4 separate regions of the Homo sapiens genome follow, and regions 1, 2 and 4 are each linked to region 3. The links are contacts of gene promoters, found by promoter capture Hi-C in blood cells and fetal thymus (Javierre and others, 2016). All regions are on one chromosome and are shown on one strand. Each heading gives the region's core, a stretch centred on a gene start or on the middle of the fragment in contact. The rest is flanking DNA. Distances are from core to core; before and after follow the strand shown. Region 1 overlaps LOC107987059 (a long non-coding RNA gene). Region 2 overlaps ACO1 (aconitase 1). Region 3 holds the start of TMEM215 (transmembrane protein 215). Region 4 has its middle 9.5 kb from the start of ACO1.

The links. Contacts are between HindIII fragments. The CHiCAGO score rates a contact against its expected background, and 5 or more counts as called.
Region 1: a contact is called between a fragment that was not itself captured here and the fragment with the promoter of TMEM215 in region 3, in 4 of 17 cell types (total CD8 T cells, endothelial precursors, total B cells and 1 more). The highest score is 6.1, in total CD8 T cells.
Region 2: a fragment that was not itself captured here is called in contact with the fragment with the promoter of TMEM215 in region 3 in 1 of 17 cell types (M2 macrophages); the score reaches 5.1 in M2 macrophages.
Region 4: a fragment that was not itself captured here is called in contact with the fragment with the promoter of TMEM215 in region 3 in 1 of 17 cell types (M0 macrophages); the score reaches 5.1 in M0 macrophages.

The regions. Positions count from the first base shown.
Region 1 is chr9:32,320,330-32,323,809 of GRCh38, forward strand. The region is part of intron 1 of LOC107987059 (a long non-coding RNA gene); the gene reads right to left. Among named protein-coding and RNA genes, the nearest start is that of ACO1, 63 kb to the right of the region's middle. The HindIII fragment of the contact is 180 bases long and covers 1,295-1,474 here.
Region 2 is chr9:32,429,815-32,432,903 of GRCh38, forward strand. It overlaps ACO1 (aconitase 1), which reads left to right. Exons shown (of 21, transcript NM_002197.3): 14 at 604-760; 15 at 1,905-2,029. Among named protein-coding and RNA genes, the nearest start is that of ACO1, 47 kb to the left of the region's middle. The HindIII fragment of the contact is 9,294 bases long and covers 1-3,089 here.
Region 3 is chr9:32,782,085-32,785,176 of GRCh38, forward strand. TMEM215 (transmembrane protein 215) reads left to right here and starts at 1,456. Exons shown (of 2, transcript NM_212558.3): 1 at 1,456-1,721; 2 at 2,042-3,092. The coding sequence starts at 2,100. The coding sequence ends at 2,807. It overlaps LOC105376017 (a long non-coding RNA gene), which reads right to left and starts at 822. Exons shown (of 7, transcript XR_929559.2): 1 at 559-822. The HindIII fragment of the contact is 4,873 bases long and covers 1-3,092 here.
Region 4 is chr9:32,373,431-32,376,892 of GRCh38, forward strand. No RefSeq gene overlaps it. Among named protein-coding and RNA genes, the nearest start is that of ACO1, 9.5 kb to the right of the region's middle. The HindIII fragment of the contact is 437 bases long and covers 1,170-1,606 here.

The DNA of each region.
Region 1 (3,480 bases), core at 135-2,634, 460 kb before region 3:
ATGCAGCTGTGGGCTGCTTGCTTCTATCTTTTTAAATTAAGACTTTTCAAAAAAGTGTATGGCCCAATTCAAGCTGCAAGAAAAAGGTAAATGATTTTATGTAGTATAGTGCCCACAAACCCTGGAATTTATAATTGTAAAAGCTCAACCACAATGTATTTAGAATTGACGGCATAGTAGGCACTGTCCTAGCCACTGGGGATATCTAGATAAAGGAAATATTATAGAACTTGGCCTACTAGCCAATCAGGACATCTTCCCAACTGCTCTCTTTCCAGATAGAGTCAGCAAATCTCCCTCCCAGTTATCAACACTGAAGGGCACTATCCAATATCTGTATAGCTATGGAGTCACTATTAGAGGAGGATAAAATCAGGGTCGTCTCTCCCTTACCTGCCCTGACTCTCCCGGGACCCCCACCTCGTCTTCTGAGTTCACAACGGAGTTCTCTCTAGCCCAAAACCAACTCTTATAACACAGAGAGAAGAGAGTCACAGGTTTGTCCCTAGATGATAACACAGACTAATGCCCCTAAACAGACAACTTCAAGGTTTCTTTAAGTGGCTTAGCTTTTATTTACTAAGTCAGTAAAAAGTCTTTGTAGGTCTAAGACCGAAAAGAAAGCATAATCAACTACAGCTTCAACTGATTCATTTTTAAAGGAGAGTCAGGGTCATAAAGCAAACAGAATTACTCATCGATAGTGCCAGGAACTGACCTGTTTCTGATAACTGGCCCCCTTTTTTGAGAGGTGACTGTATCTGTTTCTTAATACCTGGGGCAAAGTCAGTTACACACCTTGTGATGACAGACAAAAAGAGGCAGCCAGGACAGAAAGACAAACTTCGCATGTTCTCACTCATTTGTGGGAGCTAAAAATTAAAACAGTTGAATTCATGGAGGTAGAGAGCAGAATGATGGTTACCAGAGGCTGGGAGGGTAGCTGGTAGAGGGTAGGGGGACAGTGAGGATGGTTAATGGGTACAAAAATGTAGTTAGATAGAATGAATAAGATCTAGTATTTCACAGCACAACAGGATGACTACAATCAACAATAATTTATTGTACATTTTAAAATAACTAAGCATATAACTGGATTGTTTGTAACACAAAGAAATAAATTCTTGACATAATGAATACTTCATTTACCCTGGTGTGATTATTACACATTTTGTGCCCGTATCAAACTAGCTCATGTACCCCATAAGTATATACATCTACTATGTACCCATAAAAATTAGAAATAAAAAAGTTTAAAGTTTAAAAACTAACAAAAAAGTTAAAATTAAATAAAAGCTTATTGAATAAGATATAAAGGGAAAAAAGGCAGCCAGAATGAGATCCCAATTGGTGGAAAGGGCAATGAACTTTAAACAGTGGTTCCCTATTCTATTCTGCAGTCTTCTTTATGGAAGCCGTATACATGTGTGCATGAAGACAGAGAGAGACCAACAGGAAAGAGAAAGTTAAAACAAGCTTTTAGAGAGTATTTCCCATGAGCATCTCATAGTCTAGTCAGGGAGATGGACAAGTAAGTTTGCAAGAATTGCAAAACAGTGTTTTACACTTCACAATGGAAGTGTCCTGGAGATACCAAGCAGGGAATGGTAAACACTGTTAGATGAAGGCAGAGAAGGCTTCATGAAAGAGGTGATGACTTTTGAAGGATGAGTAGGAAATTCTAGGTGCATTAGGGGATTAAGGGCAATTCAAACTGCATACACTGCACCTGCTTCACTTTGGTGAGTGGCTCTCAAATTTAGCATGCATCAAAGTCACTTGGAGAGTTTATTAAAGCACAGATTACTGGGCCTCATCCCCAGAGTTTCATATTGAATAGGTCTGAAGTGGGCCCACAAATCTGATTTTCTAAAAAGTTGGCAGGTGATGTTGAAGCTGAGAACTGCTGGCTTAGGTGCACTGTGAGGAAAAATTAGTGGAGAAAGATACTCTGAGAAATAGGCAGGGCTGATTATAAGGGAAATATAGACACTGTAATCTGGACAGTGGGACCCATTGACAGGTTCTAAGCAGTAGAGTGCAATAATCACATGTGAGTTATAAGAGGGCAACTCTGATGGAAGTGTGGAGGGAAAGGGTGGTTATAACACAGTACCAGTCAGCCAGTCAGGAAATGATGAAGTCATAACAAAGGCCCAGGGGGAGCAGTAGAAATATAGAGGATGGATCTAAGATTACTTATGCAAAAACAAAAACAAAACCCAGTCTCTTGAGCTATGTTCTAAAAGGAGGACAGTAAATCAGCTGTTTCCCTTGCCTCTAGAAACTGTTATTTGTTCTCTTGCCTTATTAAAATAAATATGCACGATATACTTCTGGGAAAGGGCACAGATTTTAGTAATGTTTACTTAACAACCATCATTTGTTCATTCTTTTTTCCAAGGAAAAGGGAAATACCCTTATTTGGTGAAGCAAGCGTGTCCCCATGGGTTTTCCATATGCATCTCTGTTGCCCACGAAGCGCTGGACTAAGCATGCCTGGGAAAAGAAAGGGGTAGGTTGGGGGAAGCCTGCGTATTCATAGCTCTAGGAGAAGCAGACCAGGAAGGCCGGAGTAGCATAGGGAAGGGATATAGAGAGGGCGAGAGGAAGGGCAGAAGCAACAAAAGCTGTGCACCTGCAAGGATGGAATAAGGATTTCTAGGAAGCCCTAGAAACAGCTGGTAGGTGATTGAATTTCCTGCAGCAATATTCTAGATGAGGGGCATTTACAAGATCAGCAATAATGTTCATAAAAACTAACATTTATTGATGCTTCCTATTTTAGCCTGGGTTCCTCAAAAGCAGAGCCTGAGACAAAGGCTCACATGGTGATGACTTATTTGAGAATGGAACCTGAGGGAGCAGGAATGCAGAACAGGGAAGTAGTTTAGCAAAGCAGGGAAAGGCAGGACCTTATGAGACACTTCTCAGAATCATCCATCCAGGAAAGAAAGGGGATAGGGTTCATCCATTGGTTGCCTTCACCACTGGTCACGGGCTGCCCAGAAAGATATTAAATCTCTTGCATTTCTGAGTTGCACACACAGGAGTGCCCACTGCAGGTGTCAGAACATCCCTGAGAAGAAAGTGAGAATGTTAGGGAGCTGTCAGGTTGCATCTGTATGAAGCAGGCCAGGCCTGTATGGAACAGGTGATACCATGTTGCACCGGAGTTGAGGCCGCCGCAAGAATGTGTGATGGTACATGAGGTATCCGGTGCACTTGCTGTGGGCCAGCTCCTAGGCTAAGGGTTTTACATACATTATTCCACATAATCCATACAACAGCCCTACAAAGCAGATGTTGCTCTCCCCACCCTGCAGAAGAGGAAATGAGGGTTAGAGGACCAAAATGAGACAGCTTGGAAGTGGCAGGGTGAAAACTTAAATCCACTTCTTTCTGGACTCAAAGCCTGTGCTTAACATAACATTAAACTGTACTCAAGACAAGAATCTAGATAATAATTCAGAAAGTCTT
Region 2 (3,089 bases), core at 223-2,722, 350 kb before region 3:
GTTTTCACTACAAAGGGCTCTACAGTTGTTTGTTATAGGTATTGGGTTAGTGCAAAAGTAACTGTGATTTTTGCCATTTCAGTGATGAAGACCACAATTACTTTTGCACCAACCCAAATAATTTGAAAATTGGTTCAAAGTGAGACAAGTCTCCACACAAACGAATCTAAACTAAATTGCTTTGGCTTGATTTTTATCCCCAAAATGCTGAACCTTGAAAGATATTATTTGGTTTGCTTTGCATTAATTATAGAATCTACGTATTCTATAATTGTGCATTGTGACTTCCTTTAACGATCAACTGTTAGGTCTTTCCCACCTGTTCTTGGGCCCCAGGCAGCAATAACTAGTATGTTGCCTTCTAACTACCTGATATTTTCTCGTGAGCAGAAATCACTAAACATGTCTCTGCTTCCTTTGACCCAGAGTATCTCCCATGGGGACACCCCAGTGTACCCTTCTCCCCTCTAGTGGGAGAGAACCAAGTGAAAGGGCAGCTTAAAGGACTGTATCCTTGCGATGTGGAAACTCTTGCCAATGGTCTGAGACAAGAAGCCTAGTCAGTATCTTTTAGTGACCTGATTTTTCTCTTGCCTTACTCAGGGAGACCTTGTAGCTGTTGGAGTACTATCTGGAAACAGGAATTTTGAAGGTCGAGTTCACCCCAACACCCGGGCCAACTATTTAGCCTCTCCCCCCTTAGTAATAGCATATGCAATTGCTGGAACCATCAGAATCGACTTTGAGAAAGAGCCATTGGGTAAGATTTTGTTTGTGCAGCCATAATTTTTTTCCAGTGAATTCAGAAATATTACTAGAAGAAACTGCTTTCCTTAATAAGAAATGAAGCATAGAGCCTCCAGGGATAAGACAAAGAAGAGAATAATTTCTTTATTCCCCAATATACAGCTAAGACTTAACTGCAGTAGTTAAAACAAGAATCTACTGAGGGTAAAGGATAACGAAAGGAAAACAGGTGCCAAAAGGAATAGACATCTTGCTATTCTGGTTTCTTCTGTAGTTCCTCCCTTTCTAGCTCTCACTTTAATGATAGGCATTGTTTCAATATATACTCTGTAGAAACATACTGCAGATATTTCAACTTCTCAGAATTCCAAAGAAATGATACATCATTTCCTTTCCCCAGATCAGCTTGCTTGCTCTGCCTGCCTCAATCTATTCTAAGCCGAATAGATAATATGAAAACAATGCCTCTGAAATTTACTTTTAGGAAATCATAACTTTAGACGTACAGTTGATCCTCGTTATTTGTGAGTTCTATGTTTGCAGATTTGCGTAGTCACTAAAATGTATTTTAACCCCCAAATCAGTATTTGTAGTATGTTCACGGTCATTCACAGATCAGCACAAAGGGGTGAAAACTTTATATCATTCAACACACACGTTCTATGCTGAGATCTGATAAGGCGTCACTCTGACTTCTTGTTTCAGCTCTCCTGCGATATATAAGGATCCTTTTCTTGGTCTACGTAGTGCCATGCTTTTTGCATTTTTGTGCTTTTTGTGGTGATTTTGCTGTTCAAAATGGTCCTTGAGCATAGTCCTGAAGTGCTTCTGGTGTTCTTGAGCACAAGCCGACTGTGATGCGTACTGTGTTTAGATAGGCTTCGCTGGAAGTTCAATGTCAGTGAGTCAACAATTGCTATTAAATAAGGTGAATAATAAACCTCACATGAAGCAAGGTTATGTATTGATGGGTGACCAGAGGCTTGCAGGAACCTAACCCTGTATTTCCTCCAGTGGCAGTGATTCCGTATCCAGTCATTCAGTGTTCACACGGGCTTTATAGAACATAACTACCGAGGAGAACGAGGCTTGACTCTGTATAATCATGAAAATTGCATATTAGAAAGTTTTCTCATTAATAAACATTTTTTCCCCAGGAGTAAATGCAAAGGGACAGCAGGTATTTCTGAAAGATATCTGGCCGACTAGAGACGAGATCCAGGCAGTGGAGCGTCAGTATGTCATCCCGGGGATGTTTAAGGAAGTCTATCAGAAAATAGAGGTGAGGTCCCACACTGCCCTCCCCGCCCCAGAGGATCTAAGGGAAAGCTGCTCCCTTTGTGTCCTGTCTGCAGACCTCAAGGCTAACGGAAGTATAAACTATATAAAGTAACATTTATTTCTTCAGATGACTGGGGAGGTGGTTCTCCGTCATTTTTCTCCTGTGACTCGCATTTTTACAAACCCCACCTCCCCCAGATGTTCCCAGATTTGGACAAGTTGGTGACAGCCTAGAGAAGAAAGGCCTCCTCAGGTTCAGCTCTCCAAAACCCCACGCCTTTCTCGGACACCCAGGGGTGTGTGTCAGCTGTGGCGAGGACCCCTGGTGGTCACTATATTGTGTCACTAAGTGGAGTCCATTGGTCGAATGCACCTCTCAGAATGCATTTTTGCACACTTAAAAATAAAGAAATTAAGGCCACTCAGTAGGAAGTGCCAAACTACTGAAATAAAACTTTCCGTGCATTTTACAAATAGGAGGAAATGTGTGGGGCTCAGCATTATATTCTGAGACTCTTGGATATTATTCCTTTCCCCGCCTTCTGCATTCAGCTGACCCAAGGGCTTCTGACTGCGGCTGATGGTTTAAATGAGGGTAGAACTGTCTAGGGGAAGGGGTGATGTAGGTGTGATGTTCACACGCTGCACTCTTCACAAGGTGCTCCTTGGGAGATGGTGTTAGGGAGCTTGGCAGGCATTATGTTAAATGCCTTCCTCCAAAGGCCGAGTTAATGGACCTGTGGACAGAATTCAAACCAATTTTAATGCATAGCAGCTGTCATTTGCTACCCAGTGTTTGTGTGACCTGGAAGGCCACTTCCCAAAACACTCAGAGAGTAATTTCCCCTTTGGTACAATCTGGATTATTATTTCATAAGTTATTGATAAGCATATGCATTAGTTATCTATTGCTGTGATATAGCAATAGATATAGTGAGTTGAAACAACAAACATATATTGTCTCCCATTTTCTGTGGGTCAAGAATCCAGGCACAGCTTCACTGTGTACTTTCACAGGGTTCCAGTAAGATGTCATCTGGGGCTGCAGTCTCTGGAGGAGG
Region 3 (3,092 bases), core at 206-2,705:
CCTGCCGCCCCTTTCAGTCAAACTGGAATGTTTTTGTATTGATCTTTGCTTAAAATACATCAAGCGTTCTTCATTGCCTAGTGGATAAAAAGTCCTTAGTCTCACAGCCTTTATGATTTGTTTGGCTCCTGTCATACATGATGAAGACACTAATTATGATGACAAATATATATACATATACATGTGTACGTGTGTGCATGTGTGTGTAATTTTTGTACACAGACTATGTACCAAGCATTGTGCTAGGAACTTTACGTTTATTTAATCCTCACAATGTTTCCTCATATATTTGGTATTAATCTCATTTTACAGATAGGACGACTGATTCTCAGAGAGGTTAAGTCACTTGCCCAGGAATATACAGCTAGTTTAACTGGGGAAGGCCTGGATGTGAAAATTCTTTCCAGTAAATCAGTGTCTTGACATGAAAGCATGTACCGCTCATCAACCTGTTCTCCACCGCCCTCCTCTATCCTAAATGGGCAGCCCTGTTGAAGAATCACAGCCAAAGCCAGTCTTGCCCCCCGGGGCCAGAGGAATCCATCTGCCCCTGCCTACCAGAGCGGGAGGAACGCAGGCTCTCAATGCCTGCTTCAGCAAGGGAGGAGAGAATCGCCCAGAGCTGAGCGGCGTCGTAGGGTGGTGGTCCTGACCGGTCAAGGCCCCTTCTCCTCGTGAACTGGGGGCCAGGGAGCCCTTCTCCCTGTCCCCCCGGCACCACAGCGCTGTAGAAGTGAAATCCCGGCTCCAAGGTCACCCTCTCCCGAGCCTGGAGCTGGAAAGCCACGGGGACTCCGGGGACTCCCCCAAGGCCCGGACTAGCCTGGCACCCACCCCTCACCACTAACCCACTCCGCCTGGGCGCTGGTTCTGTGCGCTCCCGCGGCGCAGTCGCTCCGCTGCAAGAGCGCTTTCGCGCGCCGCCACCGCCCAGAGCCGGGACCAAAGCAGTCCTCGGGCACCGGCTCCCCGAGGGACACACACCCCCCCGCGCCCCGAGTCGAGGGGTTGAGAGAAGGGCGGTCGGGGAGCCCCTGGGCCTGCCGTCAGTCACCCGGATTTGTAACTGGAGAAGGGTGCGGGTCCCGGAGGGACATCTCCAGCTGGCACCTAACTCCTCGGATCCCGGACTGGGAGCCCGAGCTCGGATATTGCAACGGCTGCCCCGTGGGCAAACCGACCCTGGTTTCCGACTCCGGCCACTGGCAGCCTCGCGCCCCAGACCCTTCCCGGGCACGGAAGCGGGTCAGGTCGCCCTGCTCAGCCTCCGGAACGGCGGCGGCACAAACCCCGGCCGCTCCCAGCAGCCCCGACGAGACCCCGGGCAGCGCCTGCCGCCGGGTGGCCTCCCTCTGGGGCTGACCCCCTCGCGCCCCCGCGCGTCTGTCTGCGTTTCTGAGCCTGCTCTGACAGTGATGTAACAAGGCCAGGCTCGCGCCGCGTCCCCTCTTTCCCAGACTCAGTGCTCCCTCCTCCTCCCGCGCCCCGCGCTCTGCGCGCTGAGCTGGCGCCGGGCTCCGCTTGCACAGCACCGGGACCGACGGGCACTGCTGGGAGAGCCGCTCTCCCAGGTTCCACCTCCCCGATGCAGAGTCCGTGGGGGAAACCAGGCTTTCCTCCCAGAACCAAGGGAGCGAGCCGAGGGGGCAGCTGCTGTGGGGGCTTCTGAGGAGACAGCCTGGCTTCTTTCCCTACTTCCTGGAGAGGGCAGGAAACCTCAGGTACCTCGTTGACCCCAGCCGGAGCGTGTTGATATGAGAGAGAGACGGAGGTTGCAATAGTGAGAGGAAGAGAGGGAGGGCACAAGAAAGGGAGGGAGGGAGAGGGGACGGAGAGAAAGAGTAGAAATAGAAACAGGGAGAGATTGCAAGAGAAACGCAGAGAGAGAGATAGAGAGATTGCAAGAGAGATACAGAGACAGAGATCAAGACTGAAAGTCAAGAAGCAAGTCGGAGACAAAGGGCAAGAGAAAGACAAGAGTTGATGGGTGGGAGCTTGACTTGGATTTTTTTTTAACGCACTGTGGTTTCATCTCTGACAGAATAGAGGAACGCTGCTCCCTGGTCAGCAAGCAGCCCCCAACCTGGATGGAGTGAAACATGCGGCCTGATGACATTAACCCGAGGACTGGGCTGGTGGTGGCCCTGGTCAGTGTCTTCCTCGTCTTTGGTTTCATGTTCACCGTCTCTGGGATGAAAGGGGAGACTTTGGGAAACATCCCCCTCCTGGCCATCGGGCCAGCCATCTGCCTACCAGGCATCGCAGCCATTGCCCTGGCCAGGAAAACCGAGGGATGCACCAAGTGGCCAGAGAACGAGCTGCTGTGGGTCCGCAAATTGCCCTGCTTCCGGAAACCCAAAGACAAGGAGGTGGTAGAGCTGCTGAGGACCCCTTCAGACCTAGAATCCGGCAAGGGGAGCTCAGATGAGCTGGCTAAGAAGGCGGGCCTCAGGGGGAAGCCTCCCCCACAAAGCCAGGGTGAGGTGTCCGTGGCCAGCTCCATCAACAGCCCCACACCCACGGAGGAAGGAGAATGCCAGAGCCTCGTCCAGAATGGGCATCAGGAGGAGACGTCCAGATACCTGGACGGCTACTGCCCCTCGGGCAGTTCCCTCACCTACAGTGCCTTGGACGTCAAGTGCTCAGCAAGGGACAGATCTGAGTGCCCTGAGCCTGAGGATAGCATCTTCTTTGTGCCCCAGGACAGTATCATCGTTTGCTCCTACAAGCAGAACAGCCCGTATGACAGATACTGTTGTTATATCAATCAGATACAAGGCAGGTGGGACCACGAGACCATCGTCTAATCTCTGCCTACAAAGGTGGCTGGATTGATAGAATATGACTAAGCCCAGCTCCCCGTGGAAGCAAATTGCTCTGCTTGGAGAGCCTTCACACTGTTAGAAATTGACCTGGTATGTGATGGGTGTGATAACCTCTGGTACCCGAGAGTCATGTAAATAGGCATGTTGGGGACACATTTTAGGGAAGGGCGATGAGGGTTAAGGACACTGGAAGAGGCAGTGGGTAGGAAAGGAAGCTACTCCAGTTGCTTCTTAACAATTTACACAATGTTAAATGTTTTGTAAAAT
Region 4 (3,462 bases), core at 138-2,637, 410 kb before region 3:
CATATTGGACCGTGTTAATCCAAAAAGAGAATCCTGATGGCTGAATCAGAATCAATTTTAATTCCATAGTATCCCTTTTGGCTACACTGCTAAAGGTAGGAGGATGTACAAACCACTGGTCTAGGGTTGCTCTAGGGTAAAGAAAGATCCATTGTGTCCAAGAATGGTTAGTACAGAATTCCAGATTTTCAAAATAGGCCTATATAAACCCTTGTCCTTTCATTTTGATTAGTATCCAGAAAATAACCCCTTGGCCACGTCTTGTCTCCATTATGGTTCTGGAGACAACCACATTTAGTGACCATACTGTCTTACTACTCTTTACAGGAGGAGGTGAGAAAAGTAGAGTTGAAATCTTTTTAAGTCAATTTGTGAGAAATCCATTTCAGATTCAATATCATCTGATATTGTTGAGTCAATACTTGAGTCAAGTCAAGGATCTTGAGAAGTATTGTTGAGTCAATACATAACAATATCAGATGCCTGCAGATGGAGCATGGAATTGAATTCTTGATTATGGGCTTATCATTGGGTGACCTTTGTCACAAAAGTGGTACCATTGTCAGGCTGCAAATGGTCCAGAAAATCAAGTCTCAAGAGCCACAGGAGTACAGACAGAGTTGGCTGATTGGACTGCGGAAAAGTATCAAGAGCAGTGAGACACCACCAGTAGATACAGAAGGAGGTCAAAGGTCCGATACTGTCAGTGTACCAGGAATGGACAGAGTTCATACCTGTGCAATGCAACCTCCTTCACCACAAGACCAGCCAGCCAATCCTTGACAGGAGTTTCAAGTCTGACACACACTGGTAGCTTCCACATTAGAAGTGTATAACCCTTTATCTTGTGCCAAGTCAATGATGATATATATGTGGCCATGTCTAATACAGTGATAGATTAAGGTGGTAGAAGAAATGAGCTGGACATTTCAGGCTGGATCAACAGCTTGATTTCTGTAGGTCTCACTGGAGAATGGGTTCTTAATACAAACATCATCTAACATGAATGGCCTAGGTATTTTATCATCAGCGATGGCTTATTTCCACAGTTCATTTCCTGAGAGAGAAGTATCTTTAATCTGTTAGTCTATAGGCTTGTAAGTGACAGGCCATATAGCAGACCAAATGGCTGGATCATTGGCAATATCCCAAGAGTTAGTAAAAATATAAGCTTTTGTGGGAAGTATTGGGCAGAATTATGAGAATGGTCTTAAATTCTTCCCACTGAGTGGACAAGCATATCAGTTTTCAGGGTGCCATGTACAGAGCAGCAATTGACTACTGTAGCAGCCTAATGGACACCAACAGGTTTCAACTTAGCCAAACCATCAGTAAACCAGGCCCAGGCATTGAAAGAAACACTGTGAATCAAGGGCCTCATTGATCTGGTGGCCTTACTTCAAGCAGTGTAATGAAAATATTTTCCCTAAAATGATAGCTGCCACTCTTTCATGTAAACTGAGATGCTACTGGGGACAGACCAACTCTATCCTTGAATATTACAATTTCCATTTGACAACTGAGATATATCGGGCCTTTTCCTTATAGGTTGTCAAATCCAAGATAACCCATTCCAAAATGGAGACATCAGGCTGCAGAGTCACAAAGCTTCTATGGGTCAGCAGTTCAGCTTCTTGACCCAAAGTCTATACAGGTCAATAGCTCAGCAACAGGACAACAGAAGCCCCTGTTTTTAAAAGAGGTGTACTTGGTGCTTGCATCAGTTGTTACTAGGAAATTGCCTCCTGAATACTGCAGCCATTAAGTCTTTAAAGCTTTAATTTCCATTTCTTCTCAGGTTTTATATTCTCTTTGCTATACTACTGGGAAGGGGACAGAGATTACCCCTCCACATGCCACAGTCCTTGAATAGAAGAATTCCTCTGGGCTTCATGAGGATTCACAACACAAGCACGTACAACATGAACACCAATTATACATTCATCAGTGAAAGACACAGCAAACAGTACGTTGGATTGGCCCTAAAGGTCCTACAAGGTCACGTTAATTTTCCTCCCACATGGAAAAAATGTTGCCCAAACCCCATCAGTTGAATTTGGAGCACATTTTCCCCCATGGCAGAGGTTCATTCTTGACATTTAGGAGTGGTTAATTCTTTGTCTGGGGGTTCCCAAGCACTGTAGGAAACTTAGCAGTATCCCTGCTTTACCAACTAGATGCCAGTAGAACACCCCCCACATCGTCCCCCGGCTCAGTTGTGACTATCAAAAATGTCTCCAGGCCCACCACAGTGGCTCACGCCTGTAATCCCAACACTTTGGGAGGCCAAGGCAGGCAGATTACCTGAGGTCAGGAGTTCGAGAACAGCCTGGCCGACATGGAGAAACCCCATCTCTACTAAAAAAATAATAATAATTATATAACAAAAATTAGCTGGGCATGGTGGCTGGTGCCTATAATCCCAGCTACTTGGGAGGCTGAGGCAGGAGAATCACTTGAACCCAGGAGGTGGAGGTTGCAGTGTGCCAAGATCGTGCCATTGCACTCCAGCCTGGGCGACAAGAATGAAACTCTGTCTCAAAAAAAAAAAAAAAAAAAGTCTCCAGACATTGTCACATGTCCCCTGGGTGGGAGGAGAGGACAAAATGACCCTGGTTGAAAAACACTGCCCTATAGAAATATGGACCAAGAAGTCTAACAGGCATAACAGGACTGTAACAATAGCTGCTGGAAGGGGGATGCAGATGAGGGGAGAAGATGGCTTTTCTTATCCTTTGTCTCTCCCAACCAGGCTCAGGGTAAATTCCCTTGCACCCTACAATCCTCAGTACCTTTAGATATCCTTGTGCCCAGCACCCTCTCCATTCATGAGACTGGGAAGGATTATGACTTGGGCACCTATATTCAACAGAGCTAAAAATATTTGAGTTCCTCCCCTCCTTTCAGTTCCCCCGCATACTCAGCATTTTCCTTAAAGCAGTTGAGGCTGGGGTACAGGGGAAAGGAAGGGTCAGGAAGTGCAGAGGGAAAGAGCAGTTTCAGGCCAGTAAGCCAGTTTGCATCAGCTTTCCATTTCAAGCAGCTACCAGCAGGTTGGGCTCATTCAAGTGAACATCTGGCTTTGGTCCACCTGAAGCTGTATCTACTTACAGATGACATCATTATTTAAGCTTTGGGGGGACTCCTTGACCAATCAGATACAGCCACTTTTGGCTTCCCCACTTTTGCGGCCTAATTGTCATATAAAGTCCCTTCTTCCTGTTCCTGAGGAGAGTGAGCACAATCAAAGTACCATTTGGGAAGATTGTTTCAACCTTGCCTCTTGCTTAGCCTGTAAACATTCATTAACAGGCAGGAGAGTGAGAGAAATGTACTTTCCCCCTTGCTCCCCACTTTGGTGAGGGCATTTGCTACTGGGTCCTACTAACACAGCCCATGGGGTCTTCCAGAAAGGCACACCTCAGCCAGCACCCTATCTTGTCACCCAAACTGTCAGGGTCT